7 separate regions of the Homo sapiens genome follow, and all the other regions are linked to region 1. Evidence: promoter capture Hi-C in 16 types of primary human blood cells and fetal thymus (Javierre and others, 2016). All regions are on one chromosome and are shown on one strand. The core of a region is centred on a gene start or on the middle of the fragment in contact, and the rest is flanking DNA. Distances in the headings are between cores, read along the strand shown.

Region 1 (2,813 bases), core at 1-2,500:
GGATGGGGACACAGGAGACTCCCACCGCAGGACCTTGGTCCTGGGAGGTAGGGTCACTAGGCCAGACGCCAGAGCTCCAGCCCCCTCCAGCACTGCCAGGAGGGTGGAACGAACTCTCAGCGGCACAGCGGCCCCCTTCCCTGGGCCCACGCCAGGCGAGGCAGGGTCTCACTCCCTGGCTGCTGGCCAGGGGTGAGGAGCCCAGGAGAGGTGTCAAGCCCATCATGCCCAGGGTACTTAGGATGGGGCGGGTGGGTGTTCAGCACCCTGTGGCCCCTCCTCTGTCCTCTCCACCCATCTGCAGGAACTCAGAGACCACCCACAGACCGAGTATCCCCAACTTACTCCTCTGAACCCTTTGTGGTCCCCCCACTGCCACCTTCTGAGTCCCCTCCACCCGGGATTCAGCGGCCACCACCACACAGGCCAGCCCCCTCCCCGGGGCCGGGGCGGGGGGTCCACTACAGGAACCACCCTGCTGGGGCAATCCTGGCTGGACTGGACTCCGCCTGGGAGTTGGGGGCGCGGGCCAGGGGCTGGCCCAGACCGGGAGAAGGTGGAGGGGGGAAAGGCGGGGACCGCGGCCTTCCCAGCCCCCTCTGCTCCCACCCCGGCGCCCGCCACCGCGGGCAGCGCGACTGACCTCATTCGCCAACTGCAGCAGCCTGCGGGCGCCGGCCCGGGACGCCCCCCACCTCCAGAAGAGCCGGTGGCAAGGAGGGAGGGGGTGACAGCTCCCAGCTCCCGGCCCCTCCCGGGCAGGTGGGGGGCGGCCGTCCCTCCCCTCCCCCCGGGCCCGAATTATAATCCCAGTCACGTGCCTCCCCGGGCACCCAAAAGCCGGCCCCAGCTCCTGTAACACCTTGAGAGGGGGAGGGGCGGGGACCCCCCCCCCCGGAGGCGGAGGGGATCGGGGGCGGGGGTGGGGGAGAAGGGGAGAAGGGCCTCGGTGCCCGCCCCCCGCAAAAGTTTCTCCTACCTTGGAGGATCCCCAAGCGCTCCTGCCAGCGGCGCCCCGGCCCCGGCCCGCGGCCAGGACTCAGCCTCCTGCCGCTGCCTCCTTAATTAATCCGGGAGAATGGGGGAAGGAGAGGCAGAGGGAGGCGAGGACGGCGGCGCGGCGAGGGCGGGGAGGGAGGCGCGGGGAGGGGGCGCGGGGGGGGAATCGGCCGGCCGGGGGGCTGGCGCTCGGCGGCCCCCACCCCCGGCGCGGGCTGCGGCGGAGGGCGGGGCGGCGCGGGGAGAGGAGCGGAGAGCGGGAGCGCGGGGAGGCTCTTTGTTCTGTAATCCCAGTAAGATTGCCAGCCATTCGCCCCGGCCCTAATCCCAGCCCCGCGCAACACCACCCTCCATTGGCTGCCATTTACATACGGGATTAGCCCGCCCCGCGCCCCGCGCCCCTGCGCACCCCCCTTGCTACCCAGCGCCCCTGCGTCCCGGGGACCTGGGCACCGCGGTGGGGAGAGCGCGCCGCACCCCTCGGCCCCGGACCTGCGGGGAGGGGCGGTGGCGCCCTCGGTTCTCCCCCACCAGCGCCGGATTAGAAAAGCCTGGGCGCGCCCCCGTCTACCCCCACCGCTCCCCACCACCACTGGGAGAGCAGCCGGGCGCAGGGGGCTGAAGTTGGAGGGTCAAGGTCACCCAGCTGGAACGCGCGGAGGCCCTGAGTGTCCCGGCTGGTCACTCCCGCCTGGCCCGGGTTCTAGTCCTAAGGCTTGGGCCAGGTACCTCTTACTCTTACAGCCTTTGTCCCCCTCCCACCCCTGAGATGTGCAGGAAGGCAGTGACAGGCCGAAAGTCGCAGCAGAGCCAACTGGACTCTTGGTCCCATCTTGTCTGATGGGACCTCCCTCTGATAGGCTTTTACCCCTGTCCCCCCAACCAGCCCCCCCGCCCCCCGCCCGCCCCGCTCCCACCAACCACACACACACCACAGCAGCGCTCCTACTGAATCAGTGCGCACGCCTCCCATCCGGCCCCAAAGCCATAAATCCTAATTCAGCACAAGGAACACAGTCCTTCCCCCACGTGGTGCCCTGATCCCTGAACTAGACCTTGGCTAGACTGGGCATGGCAGGGAGGGAGGGACTCACCCCAGGCAGGCCCCAACCCCAGGGAGCTTCTGGCTTAGAAGGACAGCCAAACATAGATCGAGAATCTCCCAGGTCCTGGCAAAACCCACAAGGTCTCCCCACAGCCTCCTGGCCAAACTGCCTTTGCAAAGATTAGGACAGTGACAGAAGTTTAGCGTGGCTGACTCCATCTTGCTTCCAGCCTCACGCGCTGGCTGTCTTCACTCATTCCGGGGCATAGGCCAAGCTAACCGGGGGAGGAATTTAGTTTATAGTTCAACTTTGAAACAAGGATGATAATAGTTACTCCTTAAACCTAACCTGCTTTTTATACAAGAGACCAAAACCACCTTTGTAAAACTAACGAAAGGCCGTGAGATTAGGATTATGGGAGGGGCCTGGACGCTGCTAAAACCTACGCATCGTTTTTATAATCTGACTGCTCAGGAGTCATGTGGCGAGAGATCACAAGATTTGTGAGTTCCCCACTTCCTCCTATAGATAGCATCTCTATTGTGGAAACTGAGATTGGTCTTTGGAGATGTTTTTCAGACTTTCGCATTCGGGCAACCGACTGACTCACCTGGACCTGTGTGACTCATGACTCAGCCCATCCTGTGGCCCCCACTCAGAGACCGACTCAGTGCATAAGGACCGTTTGCCACACCCCTGTGATTTCATCTCCAACCAATCAGCAGTACCCATTCCCTGGGCCCTTGCCCACCAAATTATCCATAAAAA
Region 2 (2,772 bases), core at 259-2,758, 280 kb after region 1:
AAATCCCCACACTCAGTTTAATAAGGTCACCTTATTGTAGTCCCAATGCAACTAAAACTTAAATTGACCACGCTGTTTAAGAAGAATTTTTCTGGGTACTTCTGTGAACGTTTTTTGGAACTAGGAAAAAAAAAAAAACCCTAGTTATTAAATTTCGAAATGACTTGAGAACAAATTTGATGTTTAGAAACCTAACCCAAAGGCGATAATTTCATGTCATCCAACATTTACTTCTTTTTTTATTAGCAAATAAAATGTTCTTTGGAATGACAATAGCTCCACCTACACCGGCACACTTCCACGTTACAGTATCATGAACATTAGCTACACTCCTGCCCCGAAACAAGCTTTTGTCTGAGCCGTTCCCAAACCAAGGTATTAAAAGTGATCATTCTTTACCAAACAAAGATACTTTTGGACTGCAACCCAGGAGACTGAACACCTCAGTGTGTATTATTGTGGTGTTATCCTGGGAAAGTAATCCTTTCTGCAAGAAAACACAAAGCCCAAGTGTGTCCTTGACAAACAGCAAGATGTTCATAGCCTATATTCTAACGAGGCAACTTGTATTTAAAAAATAAAATAAAAAAAAGTGCAGAGTCCTGGAATTAAACACCATGAGCTCTCTATTCAAAGATGTTTCTTTTAAGCAAAGTGTTTCAATTATACATAGTTGTCTGCATTTGACAACAATCAGGACGACGCTAAATGCGGTTCCTTCTCCAGATCAGAGCGAGAAACCAAGGAGAAATGAAATTGTGCCAAAGAGCACGTAGCACCTGTCAAGGCACTGTGACCCAAGAAAGATTAATACAAAGAAGCTACGATGGATTTATCTCCTTGGTCTCCCCCCGCCCGCAAGGAGTCGTACCATCCCCGGGCCAGAGCCGCCAAATCCCTGCCTCACACGTAAGGGGAAGGGAATCGCCCCTCTTGGCTGCCGACCTTCCCCAGTCGGCCGGCCTCGTGGCGAAGGGGCCAGGGGCCTGCAAGGCGGGCAGGCAACAGAGGGCCGCGAAAGAGGCCGGGACCGGAGCGGGGCAGGCCGTGTGGCCCGTACCCCAGCGCCACAGCTCAGCCCCGCACTGGTCCTACCGTAGGGGGGATGGGGCTGGAAGCGGGCGCTCGTCTCCGGGCATCGGCGCCGCCGCGGCCAAGGCAGGGCAAAAACCAACACGTTGTCGTTGGCGGGAGGCAGTGGAAGGGATCCGCCCCGCAAGCAAGACCCCGGGAGCCCAGCCGCCGCCGCCCCGTCTCCGAGCGCGCCATTTCCAGGCCCCGGCCCTCCAGGCGCCGCTCCTAGGCCTCCGCGGGCCCCCGCCTCCCGCCGCCCCGGCTGAGCGCAGGACGGCCGCCACCCTGACGGCCCCGACTCCGCCGGTCCCGCAGCCCCCGACGGGGCCCGCGCACGCCCGCCTCACCCTCTGCCGCCGCCGAAGCTGCTGTAGGCCCGATCGTCGTAGGTGTCGAAGTCCGCCATTTGCCGTCTCCGCTCCGAGAGGAACCAGGGTGAGCGAGGAAGGACCCCGCAATATAACTCCCCCCGCCCCGCCGCCGGGGCTGTCCGCCGCGCCGCCTGATCGCAAATCCCTTGGACGCAGGCACGCGCACGCGCGCGCGCGCACGCACGCACGGACGCTGGCCGCGCAGCGCCCGGCCCTGGGCCCACCGGCAGCTGCCTGCCCCGTGCGCTCTGCAGCCCACGTGGTGCGGCGGCGTCCCAGCTGGACGCCTGCCCGGCCTACGCGGCCCATTATGTGCTGGCCCTGGGGTGCGCCCGTGGCTGCCTCCTATCCCCGCCGCACCACGCCCGTGCGCGCCGGCCTTTCCGTCCGTCGGCGGGAGGTGACCTGGAGAGCTGGGGGGAACTCCCTCTCCAGTTCGCCTGGGACGCTGCCTTTCGGCCTCCATACATGGCGGGGACCTCGGAGGCCTGTCCCGCTTGGACCCCCAAGTGGTCCCCGGGTGACACCCAAGTAAAGGCCACCTCCTTCTCCAGGCAGGAGCTGGCCACACGATGAGGATGCCCCGGAAGGGGGTGCGAGGCGGTGGGATGCAGACACGAATCCTGCCTTCCAGGGCTTACTCGCTGCCTGGGTATTGGGGGGTTTTGAGAGGAGAGAGTATAGGTGATCGGTGACTTAGCAAGAGAGACTGCACATCTCGGTTTTTTGCAGAAGTCGTTGCCTTGGAAAAAGAATTGGATACTGTTGTGGATTCCATCATCTAGCAATAACAAAACATGGTTATGCAGTGGGAATTAATTACACGGGTAAATTTCCAGGTTTGTGATTGAGATGGTAGTAATTGTGGATGCCACGATGTTGACAAACCTTAATTATCTAAGCACACTTTGAAAGAACCTCATAGAATTTTGTTGTGATGTGTACCTAGGTATCTTCCGCTTAACCATTACTTTTTATTATGTATTTATTGGTTCGTTGTTGAGACAGGGTCTCGCTCTGTCGCCCAGGCTGGACTGCGGTGGAACAGTGGTAGCTCACGGCAGCCTTGACCTCTTGGGCTCATGCCATCCTGCCGCCTTAGCCTCTGGAGTAGCTAGGACTATAGGCGGGCAGTACCTCGCCTAATTTGCATTTTTTTTTTTTTTTTTTTGAGATGGAGAATCAGGTTGGAGTGCAGTGGCGCAATCTCATCTCACTGCAACCTCCACCTCCTCGGTTCAAGCAATTCTCCTGCCTCTGTCTCCCGAGTAACTGGGGTGACAGACGTGCACCACCACACCCAGTTAATTTTTGTATTTTTAGTAGA
Region 3 (2,824 bases), core at 54-2,553, 420 kb after region 1:
TTCCTTTGCACTCACCTGCCCCAAATGCCCCAAGGATTCTAGCATCTGGAAAGGAGGAGAAAGCGGGGAGGGGCTGACCACAGCTGGGAGTCCAGGGACCTGGCCAGCTCCATCCTCCTTCTTTCTAGAGTCAGAGAGTTCTAGATTCAGACCCTGCTGCTGCTACCCAGCCTCCATGAGCACAAGCAGGTCAATTTGCCTCTCCGATGAGGCTTAGTTTTTGCCATCTACAAAATGGCCATTATATCACCTGCCTTGCTGGGACCAGTGAGCATGTGTGCAGAAAGCACCTAGTTGTGCAACCTACCCAGGGCACACAGTGGGTGCTCCCAGTTCCTTCTTGTCCATGCCCGTGCCCCTCTCAGTGGGCGGCTGGCCTCTGGCTAGTGCTCAGGGTGTTGGGTGTGCAGGCTTCCAGCTGCCTGGTCCCCCGCTGAGAGCTGAGGCAGGGCAGGGCCAGCTTGGACCTGTGGTGGCGCCCACGTGGAAAAGCAGCTGCCAGGCCACCCACCCTCTGTCACCAAGGGATTAATTGTTCCCAAGCATGACACGCGCTGCCTGTGCTCCATTCCATCCTGCCTGGGCAGGCCCAGACGTCCTGGCAGCCCGGATGTGGGGGCCTCCCTGGGGGTGCCATGGGGGCTCTGCCGACCCTTCTGTAGCCCTGAGTCTTCGGGGAGGTCATGGAATCCAGCCCCTTGCCTGGAAACACTGCCCTTTTTATCAGAAGGAGATGCTCTGACTTTCCTTTGGATTGACTCCTTCACCCTGAGCTGGAAGTTCTTTCAGAAGTCTAACCTAAATCTTTCATTAACAAAAGCTTCACTTTTGCAACTACACATCCTGGAACTTCGTAGGGAGTTGTCTGTCTTTCCTCTGGTGTTTAACCACAACCTGCTATGTGTCTCTTGCTCCTAGTGGGATCAATGAATGTACCCTCCAGCTTTGCAGGCACAACCTCCTCAATTTGGGTCTTCTAGGCCAAGCACAGACCTACCTCCACACCTCTGCACCACTATCATCTCCCCTGTCCTCTCTTCACCGTCAAAGACCCTGCTAAGAACCCTCACCTGCTCCAGGAAGACAGGGTATAGGTGCTGGCGGGGATAAGTGGCAAGCTCCCAGGGTCTCCTGGCCTTGCAGAGCCCTGTAGACCCCAGGCACCCCGTTCTCCCGCCTCTCCTGGCTCCAGCCCTGGTGTTTCACAACCCAGATGGACTTTTAGCGCAGGGGAATCTGGGTCTTGAAGATTCATTTGCACTTGGATTATCAACTATCAGGATTTCATAAGAGCTCTTGGACATCTAAACTGTGTCCTGGAGACTTGGGCTTCTGAGCCAGGGCAACACAGCTCAGGGTGTGGGGCGGCCAAAGTCACATGTGGAGCGTCTCATGCCGAGGGACCATCAATCTGGACAGAGACGCTGTTTCCTCCACCTGCTCCTTATCCGCCAGTATTTCCCGGAGGGACCTGCCCCACCTTCCTTCCTGGGGGTGCATTCCCCAGAGCTGAGAGTGGACCCTCGTGGCAGATCCCAGCCCCTTGGGCGAGGCCAGGATAGATCCGGCCACACCTTCTTACTGGAAAACTCCGTGGTCTGGACACAGCTGGAAAGGGCCTGAGATTAGGAGGGGAGCTTATCCGGGGCCATGGTCGGTGCTCAGCTTGGGCTTGGGGTCAGGGCTTGGCCTAAGGCCAGGATTGGGGGTCCTGTGGGACCAGGGTCAGCAGGGTCAGGGTTCAGCCTGGGATTAGGCTCAGGGCTTGGGCTGGGGTTAAGCTTTGGCTTGAGACCAGTGCTCCATCTGGAGTCAGGAGAAGGGCTCAGAATGGCATCAAGGTCAGGGTGATCTGGGGTATTGGTCTGGGGTCAAGGGCTAGGGGACCACTCAGGGGAAGTCTGGGGCTGAGGATCTGTGTCTGAGCTCCCGAGGGTCATGTAAGGCTTGGAGGCCACTGGAACCGGAGCAATCCCTGATGTTGCCTCTAACAGCCTCTCCTTTGCAGAGAGGAGTCTCTGGACAGCTGGGTGAACACACATGCACATGTAGGGTAGATGCTAGACGCCCTCACACAGGGAGGACATGGAGCTGCTTCCAGCCTCTTGTTCCTGGAAGCCCTGGGACCTGGCCCCGGCCTACTCATCCTTGGGAGGCTAATCGGTGTCCACACCTCCCTCCTTCCTCCTGCCCGTTGGCTTCCTTGTCCTGTTCCTAGTTTCCTTGTCCCATTCCCAGCTGGGTAGGCTCCTCCCTCCCCAGCTCCCTCGCTGTCTCTCAATGCTCCGAGGCCTTGGGTCTTACCTGGCTTAAGAGGTTTGCCTCCAGGCCCCAGCGCTGCAGAGGGAAGAGAAGATAGTGAATGGGGTGGCCCAGCTTATCCATCTACTACTTATCCAACCCCCAACCCGGGCAAAGTGTGGGCAGTGTGGAATCACACACCCCAGGTCCTCCCGCTCAGACTTGGAGCCCCTGGGAACCTAGCTCTACTTCTAACTCGTGGTTTATACTCTCTGAGTCCCAGAGTCTCAGCCTCAAAAGGGGATGATGGGCTGGGGGTGGTGGCTCACGCCTGTAATCCTAGCACTTTGGGAAGCTGAGGCAGGCGGATCATCTGAGGTCAGGAGTTTGAGACCAGCCTGGCAAACATGGTGAAACCCTGTCTCTACTAAAAATACAAAAATTAGCCAGGCGTGGTGGCATGTGCCTGTAATCCCAGCTACTCAGGAGGCTGAGGCAGGAGAATCACCTGAACCTGGGAGGTGGAGGTTACAGTGAGCTGAGATCGCGCCACTGCACTCCAGCCTGGGTGACAAGAGCAAGA
Region 4 (2,727 bases), core at 115-2,614, 490 kb after region 1:
TCTATTGCTGTGTAGCAACACAACCACCGCAAACAGTGGCTTTAAACAACATGTATTTATTTTCTCATAGTTTCTGGGGGCCAGGAGTCCAGGCACAGCTTAGCTAGGTCCTCTGCTTCTAGCTCACTAAGTTGCAATCAAGGTGTCTCATCTGAGGCCAACTGGTGGAGAATCGACTTCTAACTCATGTGGTGGTTGACAGAATTCAGTTCCTTGCAGGCTGCTGGACCAAGAGCTTCAGTTTCCACCTGGCTGTCAGCCAGAGGCCACTCCCATCTCCTTGCCACATGGCAGCTTACTTCCTCAAAGCCATTAGGTGTATGGTGGGGAGGACAAGAGTGTCCTAGCAAGATGGATTATTATCTTACATAATGTAATCACATACACGTCATCATGTACATGCCTTCACCTGTGTTATATTCTATGATTTAGAAGCAAGTCACAAGTCACATCCACGCTCAAGGGGAGGCCACACAAAGGTGTGATGGCAGGAGGTGGGACTCATAGGGCCACCACAGTCTCTCACCACCACTGATAAGACTCAAGCTATATTCTTTAAACCAAAAATGGAGAATACTGCATTATCAATATTAGTCATGAAAGAAGAGACATTACTAAAGCTTCTGTGTACATGAAACAGATAATAAGGGAATGTTATGAGCAATAGCATGCCAGTACATTTGATAGCTCAAGTAGCATGGACAAATTCTTTGAAGACACAAATGACCAAAACTGGCTCAAGAATAAATAGAAGTTTAGAAGGAAAACATAGCGCTGTAAATTCCTATATTAAAAATGAAGCAAGATCTCAAATCAATAACCTAAACTTCTACCCTAAGAAACAAGAAAAAGAGGAACAAAGTTAAACTCAAAGCAAATACAAAGAAAGAAATAATATAGATTAAGGGGAAATAAATGAAATAGAGACAGAAAAGCAATAGAGAAAGCTAATGAAACCAAAAAGTTGGTTCTTCAAAAAGATCAACAAAATTCACAAATCTTTAGACTTGCCAAGAAAAAAAGAGAAAAAAATTCAAATTACTAAAATTGAGAATGGAAGAAATGACATTACTATTTTTTTTTTTTTGAGACGGAGTCTTGCTCTGTTGCCCAGGCTGGAGTGCAGTGGCACAATCTCGGCTCACTGCAACCTCTACCTCCTGGGTTCAAGTGATCCTCCTGCCTCAGCCTCCCAAGTAGCTGGGATTACAGGCACACGTCAACACAGCCGGCTAATTTTGTATTTTTAGTAGAGATGGGGTTTCACCATGTTGGCCAGGCTGGTCTCGAACCCCTGATCTCAGGTGATCCACCCGCCTCGGCCTCTCAAAGTGCTGGGATTACAGGTGTCAGCCACTGCGCCCAGCCAGGACATTACTATTAACCTTACAGAAGGATAGAGAATTATAAGGGAATACTATGAACAATTGTATCCCAGGGACAAATTCTTACAAAGCCTCAAGCTATTAGAACAGACACAAAAAGAAATTAAAAATCTCAAAATATCTATAACAAGAGATTGAATTAATAATTAAAACAAAACAAAACAAAGCAAAACAAACACAAAAGAACTCCTTGCAAAGAAAAACCCAGGACCAGATGGCTTCACTGATGATTTCTGCCAAACATTTAAAGAAGAATTAATATCAATCCTCCAAAAACCTTTCCAAAAATAGGGGGGAAATTTTCCAACTCATTCTGAGGTCCTGACACCAAAACCACACAAAGACAAAACAAGAAAAGAAAACTATAGACCAATAATTCTTACAAATAAAGACAAAAAAATTCTCAGCAAAATACTAGAAAATGAATTCACTAACATACAAAAAGGATTATATACCAATGATCAAGTGAGATTTATGCCAGGAATGTAAGTTTGCCTCAGTGTACAAAAATCAATGCAGTTAATACACCCTATTAATGGAATAAAAGGCAAAACCATATCATCGTCTCAATAGATGTAGAAAAAGCATTGTCAAAATCCAACACCCTTTTGTGATAAAAACAATCTCCAAACTAGGAATAGAAGGATAATTTCTCAACCTGAAAAAAGACATCCATAAAAACCCACCTATCATCATACACAGTGATGAAAGGTAGAAAGCTTTCTTCCTAAGATCAAAAACAAGACAAGAATGTCCCCTGTCAACACTTATATTCCACATTGCATCAGATGTTCTAGCCAGGGCAGGAGAAAGAAATAAAGGCATCCAGATTAGAAAGGATTAAGTATAACTGCCTCTATTTGCAGAGAATGTGGCCTTGTATAGAGAAAATCCTCAGGATTACACAAACACACAGACATATATACACACACACAACTATTAGAACTAATAAATGAGTTCAGCAAGGTTGTAGAATACAAGATAAATATATAAAAATCTGTTATATTTTTTGGAAATGAACAATCCAAAAAATTAGATTAAGAAAACAATTCCATTTATAATAACATAAAAATAAAATACTTAGGAATAAATTTAATAAAACAAGCACAAGACATACTCTGACAACCACAAAACACAGTTGAAAGAAATTAAAGAAGTCTTGATGGGGTGCAGTGGCTCACGCCTGTAATCTCAGCACTTTGGGAGACCAAGGCAGGTGGATCACCTGAGGTCAGGAGTTCGAGACCAGCCTGGCCAATATGGTGAAACACCGTCTCTACTAAAAATACAAAAATTAGCCAGACATGGTGGTGCCTGCCTCTAATCCCAGCTACCAGGGAGG
Region 5 (2,837 bases), core at 202-2,701, 390 kb after region 1:
GCAGTGAGCAGGGGAGGAGGCCAGGGCTGCTGGGGGTCGGCGCTGAGGAAGCCAGGATTTTCCGAGGTAGAAACTGGCCCCAAGTGGACCTGCCCGGCTGGTTGGTGGATCCCTGGGGGAGTCTTCCACCTCCCACCAACGCTGCTCACAGGAGGCCAGGAATTCAGGGGCTACAGACAGCGTGGGTCTGGCCAGGCAGGGCTGCCAGAGCGCCAAGTGCAGAGGCTGTGGGACTGCCACGTCCTCTGGGCTGGCTCGTGGTGGGAGCGGTCCTGCTGGCAGGACAGGAAGGCGGGCGGGGGCCCGGGGTGCCCAGATGAGGAATACCAGCTCCTTTGCTCGGGCCAGAGAGCTGGGGTGGAGGCAGAGACTGCCCAGACTCCTCATACCCACAGCAGGCCCAGTCCCTTCCTGGACACAGGGACCATGTAACTGTCAGGGTCAGGGCAAGCTTAGGGATGGTGGAATTGCCTCCTGGGGGGCAACTGGGATTTCAAGGGTGTTTTTGGTGGTCACAGGGGTTGAAGGCACCATAAGCATTTAGTGGGCAGGGGCCAGGTTTTTAAACTGTCATAAACGTGTCCTAGAAACTGCCTTTTTCTTTTTCTTTTCTTTTCTTTTTTTGAGATACAGTCTCGCTCTGTCGTCCAGGCCGGAGTGCAGTGGCGTGATCTCGGCTCACTGCAACCTCCATCTCCTGGGTTCAAGCGATTCTCCTGCCTCAGCCTCCCGAGTAGCTGGGATTACAGGTGCCCGCCACCACACCTGGCTAATTTTTGTGTTTTTAGTAGAGATGGGGTTTCACCATATTGGTCAGGCTGGTCTGGAACCCCCGACCTCAGTTGATCTGCCCACCTCGGCCTCCCAAAGTGCTGGGATTACAGGTGCCCGCCACCACGCCTGGCTAATTTTTGAATTTTTAGTAGAGATGGGGTTTAACCATATTGTTCAGGCTGGTCTGGAACTCCTGACCTCAGGTGATCTGCCTGCCTCGGCCTCCCAAAGTGCTGGGATTACAGGTGTGAGCCACCACGCCCGGCCGAAACTGCCTTTTTCTATTGTGACCACCCCAGTCCTGTGCTGTCAGGGATGGTGTGGTGGCAAGGGAGCCACAAGTGGTTGTGGGGTGCACTCACCATATTTGGCTGCTTTAGCGGCAGCCAGGGCTCCAGGTACTGGGGAGAAAGAAAAGTTGGGGAGTGGTCAGGAGCCGAGCTCTGTGCCTGGGAGTTCTGCCGCCTCCTCTAGAGAGCCCTCCCTGACTTCCTTGGCCTCTATTGCTTCCTCAAAGCCCTGAAGCTGTACAGGCACAGAGCTTTAGGGCTGAACAGTGCCTCCACCTTCCGTCTGCCCCTTCCTTCTCTCCCCAGGCCTAGCATGGACTGCCTGAGGCTGGGCACAGAGTGGGGCTCAGTCACCAGCTGGTGAAGAACTGGAGTTCCTAGTGGTCCCCTGGCCACAGAGCACTGCTGAAGGGGAGCCAGGCTGATCTACCTGCTCCTTCCCTGGTTGGAGGGCAGGCTTTTTCTCAGTCTGGAGCCCTGCCACCCCTCTACTGAGGAGGCAGATACTCTGCAATTGGGCAGCCTGGGGTCCCTTGGCCTGGTCTGCCCTCCTCCCGCTATCTGTTACCCCCAGATGCTTAGGAGAACCTAACAAGGATTTTACTATGCACCCCTGGGTGATGAGGGGGTGCTGGGGAGGTGCTGAGAGGAGGAGGGATCTCCTTCCCTGAGCTCAGGGGACAGGCTCCGCCTAACTCCCTCATCTGCACCTGCCCCGAAGCCAGGAACACCAGCACCAACTCCAAGTCCAGGAACACCAGCACCAACTCCAAGTCCAGGGACGCCGACACCAACTCCAAGTCCAGGGATGCCAGCACCAAGCCCAGCTGCAGCTCCTGCAGACAGAGGGCAGTGGTGGCGACAGCAGGCAGGGAGCATGCCCCTAAGGAGGTGTCCTGCCCAGGGAGCTGAGCCTAGTCCCAGAGGAAGGGGCCCAGATCCAAGCAGCGGCCTCCTCCCTGGCTGTTGCCCCTAACCAGCTCTGAGATCGTTGGGGAGAGGAGAGAAAGGTGGGCGAGGCACTCACGGAGCTGGGCTTTGGCAGCCACCTTGGCAGCGGATTTTGCTGCAGCTGAGGGAGGGAGAGAGAGGGGGATTAGAGATGGAGGCGGGGCCCATGGAGGCTTCGGGGGCCCCTCAGGCTCATTGACTCATGAAACTCACCTGCAACTCCACCAGGGCCAATGCCGGGAGCCACGCCAACGCCAGGAGCCACACCAACTCCAGGAGCCACGCCAACTCCAGGAGCCAAGCCAACTCCAGGAGCCACACCGACACCAGGAGCCACGCCAACTCCAGGAGCCACGCCGACACCAGGAACTAACCCTGCAAGATTGAGAAGAGCTGATCATTAACCAAGACCTGATCAAAGAGGACAGAAGCTTATGGAAAGAGGGCTGGAGCCTCGGCCCTGGCATAGATTTGCTGTGTGACCCTGGATCAGTTACTTTCCCTTGCTGGGCCTCAGCTTCCTCCTCCCTAATATGAAGTGTGTGCAGGCTCAGGAGTTCATAACTTTGTTTTTTTGGAGACAGAGTCTCACTCTATCGCCCAGGCTGGAGTGCAATGGCGTGATCTCGACTCACTGCAACCACCACCTCCCGAGTTCAAGTGAGTCTCCTGCCTCAGCCTCCTGAGTAGCTGGGACTACAGGTGCGCACCACCATGCCCGGCTAATTTTTTTGTATTTTTAGTAGAGACAGGGTTTCACCATGTTGGCCAGGCTGGTCTTAAACTCCTGACCTTGGGTGATCCACCCGACTTGGCCTCCCA
Region 6 (2,700 bases), core at 59-2,558, 440 kb after region 1:
CCGTCACCAACTGTGTTTGATGGGCAATGGCCATCAGAAGTGGTGTTAAGAAGGATTCTGAGGATATCCAGTCTCAGCAGACGGGAATCACACAGTCAATGGGTCATGTCTGCTGGGAGCAAGAAGTGGGAGGTATGGCCTATACTTTGTGTCTTAAATGACCCTGATCTAGTCTAAATCCCTTATTAGGATTAATCCAAAGTAGAGTTTAAATGATTCATTCAATGGTACTCAGGCATCAATTAACAGAGATGGTTTGTCTGGGCGCAGTGGCTCACGCCTGTAATCCCAGCACTTTGGGAGGCTGATGTGGGAGGATTCCTTGAAGCCAGGAGTTAGAGATCAGCGTGGGCAACATAGCGAAACCCCCATCTCTGCAAAAAACAAACAAAACAATTAGCTGGGTATGGTGGTATATGCCTGTACTCCAGCCATGCAGGAGGCTGAGGTAGGAGGCTCACTTGAGTCCAGGAGCTCAAGGCTGCAGTGAGTCATGACTACGTCATTGCGCTCCAGTCTGGGCAACAGAGTGAGTCTCTGTTTCTAAAAGAAAAAAAATAATAATAATGATAATAAGATAGTTTAGAAGCTTGGCTATTACCCATTTAACAGAAAGGCACTTACTTGTTTATTCAGCAAATATTGATTTAGCAACTACTAATTTCTGTTCCTGTGCTGAGCATTGAGAATATGATGGTGAATCCAATCTAGTCTGATGTCTGCCTAATTCTGCGTTTCTCCCTTGACTCCAATATTCAATGTATGGACTTAATGGAGCCATCTCACGGGATAGTCACTTACCATCTGGTGAGCCAGCTGTTCCTGGGGTGGGATTATAATAAAATTTTTAAAAAATGGAACTTGGGGCCAGGTGTGGTGACTCATGCCTATAATCCCAGCAATTTGGGAGACCAAGGTGGGCGGATCACTTGAGCCCGGGAGTTCGAGACCAGCCTGGGCAATATGGCAAAACCCCATTTCTACAAAACACACACACACACACACACACACACACACACACACAAAATTAGCCAGACTTAATGGCGTGTGCCTGTAGTCTCAGCTACTTGGCGGGGCTGAGGCTGGAGGATCGCTTGAGCCTGGAAGGTGGAGGTTGCAGTGAGCTGAGATCGTGCCACTGCACTCCAGCCTGGGTGACAGATTGAACCCTGTCTCAAAAAAAAAAAAAAAAAAAAAGAAAATAAAAAAGGAAGTTGGTGGGTAACTGGGGTTCTGAGGTTGTACTGTTTCTCTCCAAGTACCTTTGCAGAAAGAGGTCCCCAAATAAGGCCTGTAAATGAAAAGATGTGAAAACACAAATCACTAATGAAATGGACCAGGGGGGCTCCTGGGTTTCTATGATGGTCCTTGGAGACTGTTCGGGCACCATTCAGCACCATTCGGTCCTCCCCTGGTTCTGCCCACCTGCAATGCCTGTCTCCCTCTGAGCCGGCCTCAGGACCTTCCGCCCTTCCCCAGACACGCCCTTCCCCAGACACCCCCTTCCCACTACACCCCTGTGGTTAAAAGCAGAGGCTCTGAGTCCACATGGCGCAAGTTCAAGTCCCTCTTGTTCCACTTTGGGCACTTTGACCTTGGGCAAGGTACCCTCCCTGAGCTTCAGTTTCCTCATCTCTTAGAGAGGGTGTGGCAGGGAGTCAGGGAGCTCAAGCACATTGCATGCATGCAAGCACAAAATAGCTGCTCAGCAAAATCTTAGCTACAGCCCTGCTCAGATCCCTGGTTCAGGGCCGTTTGGAGAAACTGGGGCAGTAAAAAGAGGTGTGGCCCCGTCCTGGGGCTCCATAGAAAATTCATTTCTGCATCCTCTACGTGGAGCTTTGCACTGAGCCTCGGAAATGGTAGAGACTCGATCAAGGCCTGTAACAGGAGGGAGAACCAGGGTTTTGTTCTCAACTTTCTGCTTCTTTCCTTGTGGGAAAACCCAGATTTGTTTCAGGGGAGTGAAGGAGCAGGGTCTGTATGTTTTCTGGACCAGGTGGGCTCGGAGAAGGCCCTGAAGCTTCTGTCAGATGAGAGGGGCCCCAGGAGGTGAGTCCCGACCCTGCGGCAGAGCCACTCCCTGGGGTCCAAGTGAACCTCCACCGCCCGCCAGGCCCCATGTTCTAGCTTCAATCATGTCCACCGCCCTGGCTGGGCCCCAGCCAAGCCCTCACTCGCTGGTGAGGGCCAAGCCGAGGCTGTGCCAGGCTCAGCGGAGGCCCTTGGCCAAGAACAGCAGAGCCATTCTCAGGAAAGCTGAGGGATTAAGCTGGGAGGCCAGCAGGGATTCAGGTATCCGCCCTCTGCCCCAGCTTGGCCATGGGAGGCAGGGCGACCTCACAGTTGTAAAGCAAAGGGACTGACCAGAGCCACCCACCCGGGGACCTGAGGACACAGTGTGGCCTGGACCAGCTCGCTCCTGCGGCCGCCTCTGGGGAGGAGTCGAGATCACATGGACTGATGCTGAAGGACTCTGGCCTAGGACCTGTCCCTGATCTCAGGCCCGCCCTGCCCTGGTGTTGGAATCTTAGCTCCTCTGGGTCTCCTGGGGGCTGTGCTCACCTGGAGGGATGGGTAGGATGACGTGGATGCCTCAGTGCAGACAGTCCCTTCTGCTGGGGCCACCTTTGTGTCTGGCAGGGCTAGTATGGGGCGGACAGGCCTGGCCATGGCTGCTGGGCTGTAGTGGCAGAGGTG
Region 7 (2,864 bases), core at 310-2,809, 270 kb before region 1:
CTCCTGGGCTCAAGCGATTCTCATGCCTCAGCCTCCGAAGTAGCTGGGATTACAGGCACCCGCCACCGCGCCCGGCTAATTTTTGTATTTTTTTGATAGAGATGGGGTTTCGCCATGTTGGCCAGGCTGGTCTCAAACTCCTGGCCTCAAGTGATCCACCCACCTCGGCCACCCAGAGTGCTGGGATTACAGGTGTGAGCCACCGCGCCTGGCCTGTTCAAATACTTTTAACAAGTGCAAAATGTATGGGCTTAAAGAAATAGGGCTGCATTATGATGAAACAGATACTGTTGATTCAGTCAGCACAGAGGCTGTGTATAAAGGAGCAGTCAGCTATTCAAGCACAGCGCACAGCACACACGCTGTTGTGAGAGTTCCGTGCTCATTTCCTTGTGGATACACCAGGAACTCACTCTGCTGTGACCCTTCAGTACACCTCATGTTAGGATTAGAGACATCTGGGTCATATCAGCTGCCACTGTCATCTTCTAGTCCCTCAAAGTGTCAGGTAACATGCTATTAATATTGCTGCTCAAACATCATCTATAAAATACTGAAAACATCATTTTAAGAAATTCTTATTTAAAAACAAATGTGGTATGGTGAAGAAAATAATTATTGTGTTAAAGACAGTATCATAGAAAAAAGATCACTCAAGTACAAGACACTATCTTTTTAGATGGGTATAATTGTTATTCTTATTTTACAGCTAAAGAAACAGGCTCAGAGGATGTTATTTGATTGGACTATGTTGTATCTCTGGAGAGCACAGCTGAGATCAGACTGTGTGTGTGTAACTCCACTAGACTACGAGGGTGCTTCTCATAAAGGTAAGAAATGCAAATTTGGCCTAATATACGATGTTGCCCGGGGCAGCACTGGGTCACTTCTATAGACACTTCTGTGTTAATCAAGGGAAATCTTAAGGGAAGGTGAAAATGCTTCTAGAAGGCGACTGGACACCAGCACCCTTGCTTGCTGCCTTTGGGCTCTTCCTCTAAGGCCAACAGTGACCTGAAATTATTGACTGGCTGGCCGTGCTAATCAACTGGAGAAAATGGTTCCGAGGTCACCAACATCAGACAAATTCATTTTAGGACCTATGTATGTGCTTAGAAAGACAGAAGTGCTTTTGTAAAGGATACTATTTCAGAAAAACATAATCATAGTAACAACTAATGACGCTATAAAATGCTGATGTGTTGAATGCTACTTTAGAAAAACATGTTCAAATCTAGGAAAAAATTTGATAGAAAACTATCTATCTATCGGCAGGGTCTCATTCTTTCTATCTATCTATCTATCTATCTATCTATCTATCTATCTATCTATTGGCAGGGTCTCATTCTATCTATCTATCTATCTATCTATCTATCTATCTATCTATCTATCTATCTGTCGGGAGGGTCTCATTCTATCGCCCAGGCTGGAGGGCAGTGGCATGATTATAGCTCACTGCAACCTCGAGCTCCTGGCCTCAAATGATTCTCCTGCTTCAGCCTCCCAAATAGCTGGGACCAACACACCTGGCTATTTTTCTTTTAATTTTTTGTAGGGACAGGGTCTCATTATGTTGCCCAGGCTGGTCTGAAACTCCTGGCCTCAAGTGATCCTTCTGCCTCAGCCTCCCAAAGTGCGGAGATTATAGGCATGAGCCACGGGACCAGGACAGAAAACAATTTTAAAATGACAACCTCCCTGTGAAATAAAACTTGACTGGCACCTGGGTTTGTATGACTGTAAGGATTAAAAATGGTCAAGACACCCTATAAATAGATTAAGGTTCCAACCTAAGTAGAAACAATCTGGAAAACAGAAGTGTGTAAGTTTGGACCTCAATTCTGAAAATATACTTTTTAAAAAACCCGATTTTCCAACTCCCAAACAGATTTTAGAAACCTTAAGAGTATTTTTATGCTGGCTTCCAAAGGTTAAAACAAAATACACTCATTTCACCTATGAATACTGTCAAAGCATTATAAATGCTTAATATTACTATATATTTTTTTACAAACATTAAGCAGTAACTTCTAAAATAAAAGTATTTCCCCTATAGGTTAAGGTCTCCTAAGTATCCTTATAGATCATCATTTAAGCTGACTATTCATTGAGTGACATAAACTGAAAGCTGCTAGAGTAGAATGACATGAGAAAGGAAACACAGCTGTAGATGGAATGGAAGGGACACCTGTGGAGCTCCATCCCATGGATCTCAGTCCAAATCCAAACTTCACAGCTGAGGCCCAGGGGAAGGGAAGACAGGTTTTCCTTACTGAAAAGACTTCACTTTTTCAGTCACACAAACATTTTAGACCACAATAGATTTAATAGCATAAATATATTTTATGAAGGTAACCCAATCGATCATAAACCAAAAAAAAAAAAAGAAAGAGAAAAAGGCAAATCTACTAGAGTGCTTTTTTAATACAACAAAGACTGTAAAATATTGAAAATATCAGGGATATCACATTTTCCTCTTCACTGACAAATAATAAAGTTCAATCTGTTAAATGTGAACATATATAGAGATGAATGTAGTTACTTTATTTTTTAAGACAGGGTCTCCCTCCTTCACCCAGGCTGGAGCACCACTCACTGCAGCCTCGACTTCCCAGGCTCAGGTGATCCTCCCACCTCAGCCTCCCAAATAGCTGGGACTACAGGCCTGCACCACCACGCCCAGCTAATTTTTTTTTTTTTAACTTTTGTAGAGATAGGGGTCCCCCTATGTTGCCCAGGTTGGTCTTGAACTCCTGGCCTCAAGTGATCCTCCTGCCTTGGCCTCCTAAAGTGCTGGGATTATAGGTGTGAGCCACCGCACCCAGCTGGATGTAGTTATTGATAAAATATCACACCATATATTC

Evidence for each region. The method cuts DNA at HindIII sites, captures the fragments that hold promoters and counts their contacts. A CHiCAGO score of 5 or more calls a contact.
Region 2: a contact is called between the fragment with the promoter of EIF4H here and the fragment with the promoter of GTF2IRD1 in region 1, in 2 of 17 cell types (naive CD8 T cells and total CD4 T cells). The highest score is 6.7, in naive CD8 T cells.
Region 3: a fragment that was not itself captured here is called in contact with the fragment with the promoter of GTF2IRD1 in region 1 in 6 of 17 cell types (neutrophils, erythroblasts, naive B cells and 3 more); the score reaches 10.7 in neutrophils.
Region 4: a contact is called between a fragment that was not itself captured here and the fragment with the promoter of GTF2IRD1 in region 1, in 1 of 17 cell types (erythroblasts). The highest score is 5.7, in erythroblasts.
Region 5: a contact is called between a fragment that was not itself captured here and the fragment with the promoter of GTF2IRD1 in region 1, in 1 of 17 cell types (neutrophils). The highest score is 8.9, in neutrophils.
Region 6: a contact is called between a fragment that was not itself captured here and the fragment with the promoter of GTF2IRD1 in region 1, in 3 of 17 cell types (erythroblasts, total B cells and naive B cells). The highest score is 6.1, in erythroblasts.
Region 7: a fragment that was not itself captured here is called in contact with the fragment with the promoter of GTF2IRD1 in region 1 in 3 of 17 cell types (non-activated CD4 T cells, total CD4 T cells and erythroblasts); the score reaches 6.1 in non-activated CD4 T cells.

Annotation. Positions count from the first base shown.
Region 1 is chr7:74,452,343-74,455,155 of GRCh38, reverse strand. GTF2IRD1 (GTF2I repeat domain containing 1) reads right to left here and starts at 1,250. Exons shown (of 27, transcript NM_005685.4): 1 at 980-1,250. RefSeq lists silencers at 628-697, 1,200-1,549 and an enhancer at 2,435-2,813. The HindIII fragment of the contact is 10,217 bases long and covers 1-2,813 here.
Region 2 is chr7:74,173,092-74,175,863 of GRCh38, reverse strand. EIF4H (eukaryotic translation initiation factor 4H) reads right to left here and starts at 1,508. Exons shown (of 7, transcript NM_022170.2): 1 at 1,422-1,508. The coding sequence starts at 1,480. RefSeq lists enhancers at 443-955, 956-1,469, 1,451-1,745 and a silencer at 1,248-1,757. The HindIII fragment of the contact is 12,534 bases long and covers 350-2,772 here.
Region 3 is chr7:74,037,220-74,040,043 of GRCh38, reverse strand. It overlaps ELN (elastin), which reads right to left. Exons shown (of 33, transcript NM_000501.4): 4 at 2,305-2,337. Among named protein-coding and RNA genes, the nearest start is that of ELN, 10 kb to the right of the region's middle. The HindIII fragment of the contact is 961 bases long and covers 823-1,783 here.
Region 4 is chr7:73,958,304-73,961,030 of GRCh38, reverse strand. No RefSeq gene overlaps it. Among named protein-coding and RNA genes, the nearest start is that of ELN, 69 kb to the left of the region's middle. The HindIII fragment of the contact is 1,484 bases long and covers 623-2,106 here.
Region 5 is chr7:74,059,439-74,062,275 of GRCh38, reverse strand. It overlaps ELN (elastin), which reads right to left. Exons shown (of 33, transcript NM_000501.4): 23 at 2,229-2,390; 24 at 2,092-2,136; 25 at 1,775-1,900; 26 at 1,137-1,175. It overlaps ELN-AS1 (ELN antisense RNA 1), which reads left to right. Exons shown (of 2, transcript NR_183555.1): 1 at 1-66; 2 at 2,244-2,837. Among named protein-coding and RNA genes, the nearest start is that of ELN-AS1, 1.4 kb to the left of the region's middle. RefSeq lists a silencer at 1-20 and enhancers at 1-117, 1-161, 162-662. The HindIII fragment of the contact is 1,995 bases long and covers 454-2,448 here.
Region 6 is chr7:74,013,649-74,016,348 of GRCh38, reverse strand. No RefSeq gene overlaps it. Among named protein-coding and RNA genes, the nearest start is that of ELN, 13 kb to the left of the region's middle. The HindIII fragment of the contact is 1,434 bases long and covers 592-2,025 here.
Region 7 is chr7:74,725,368-74,728,231 of GRCh38, reverse strand. All of the region lies in intron 12 of GTF2I (general transcription factor IIi), which reads right to left. It overlaps GTF2I-AS1 (GTF2I antisense RNA 1), which reads left to right. Exons shown (of 4, transcript NR_110044.1): 2 at 710-830. Among named protein-coding and RNA genes, the nearest start is that of GTF2I-AS1, 2.1 kb to the left of the region's middle. The HindIII fragment of the contact is 3,415 bases long and covers 1-2,864 here.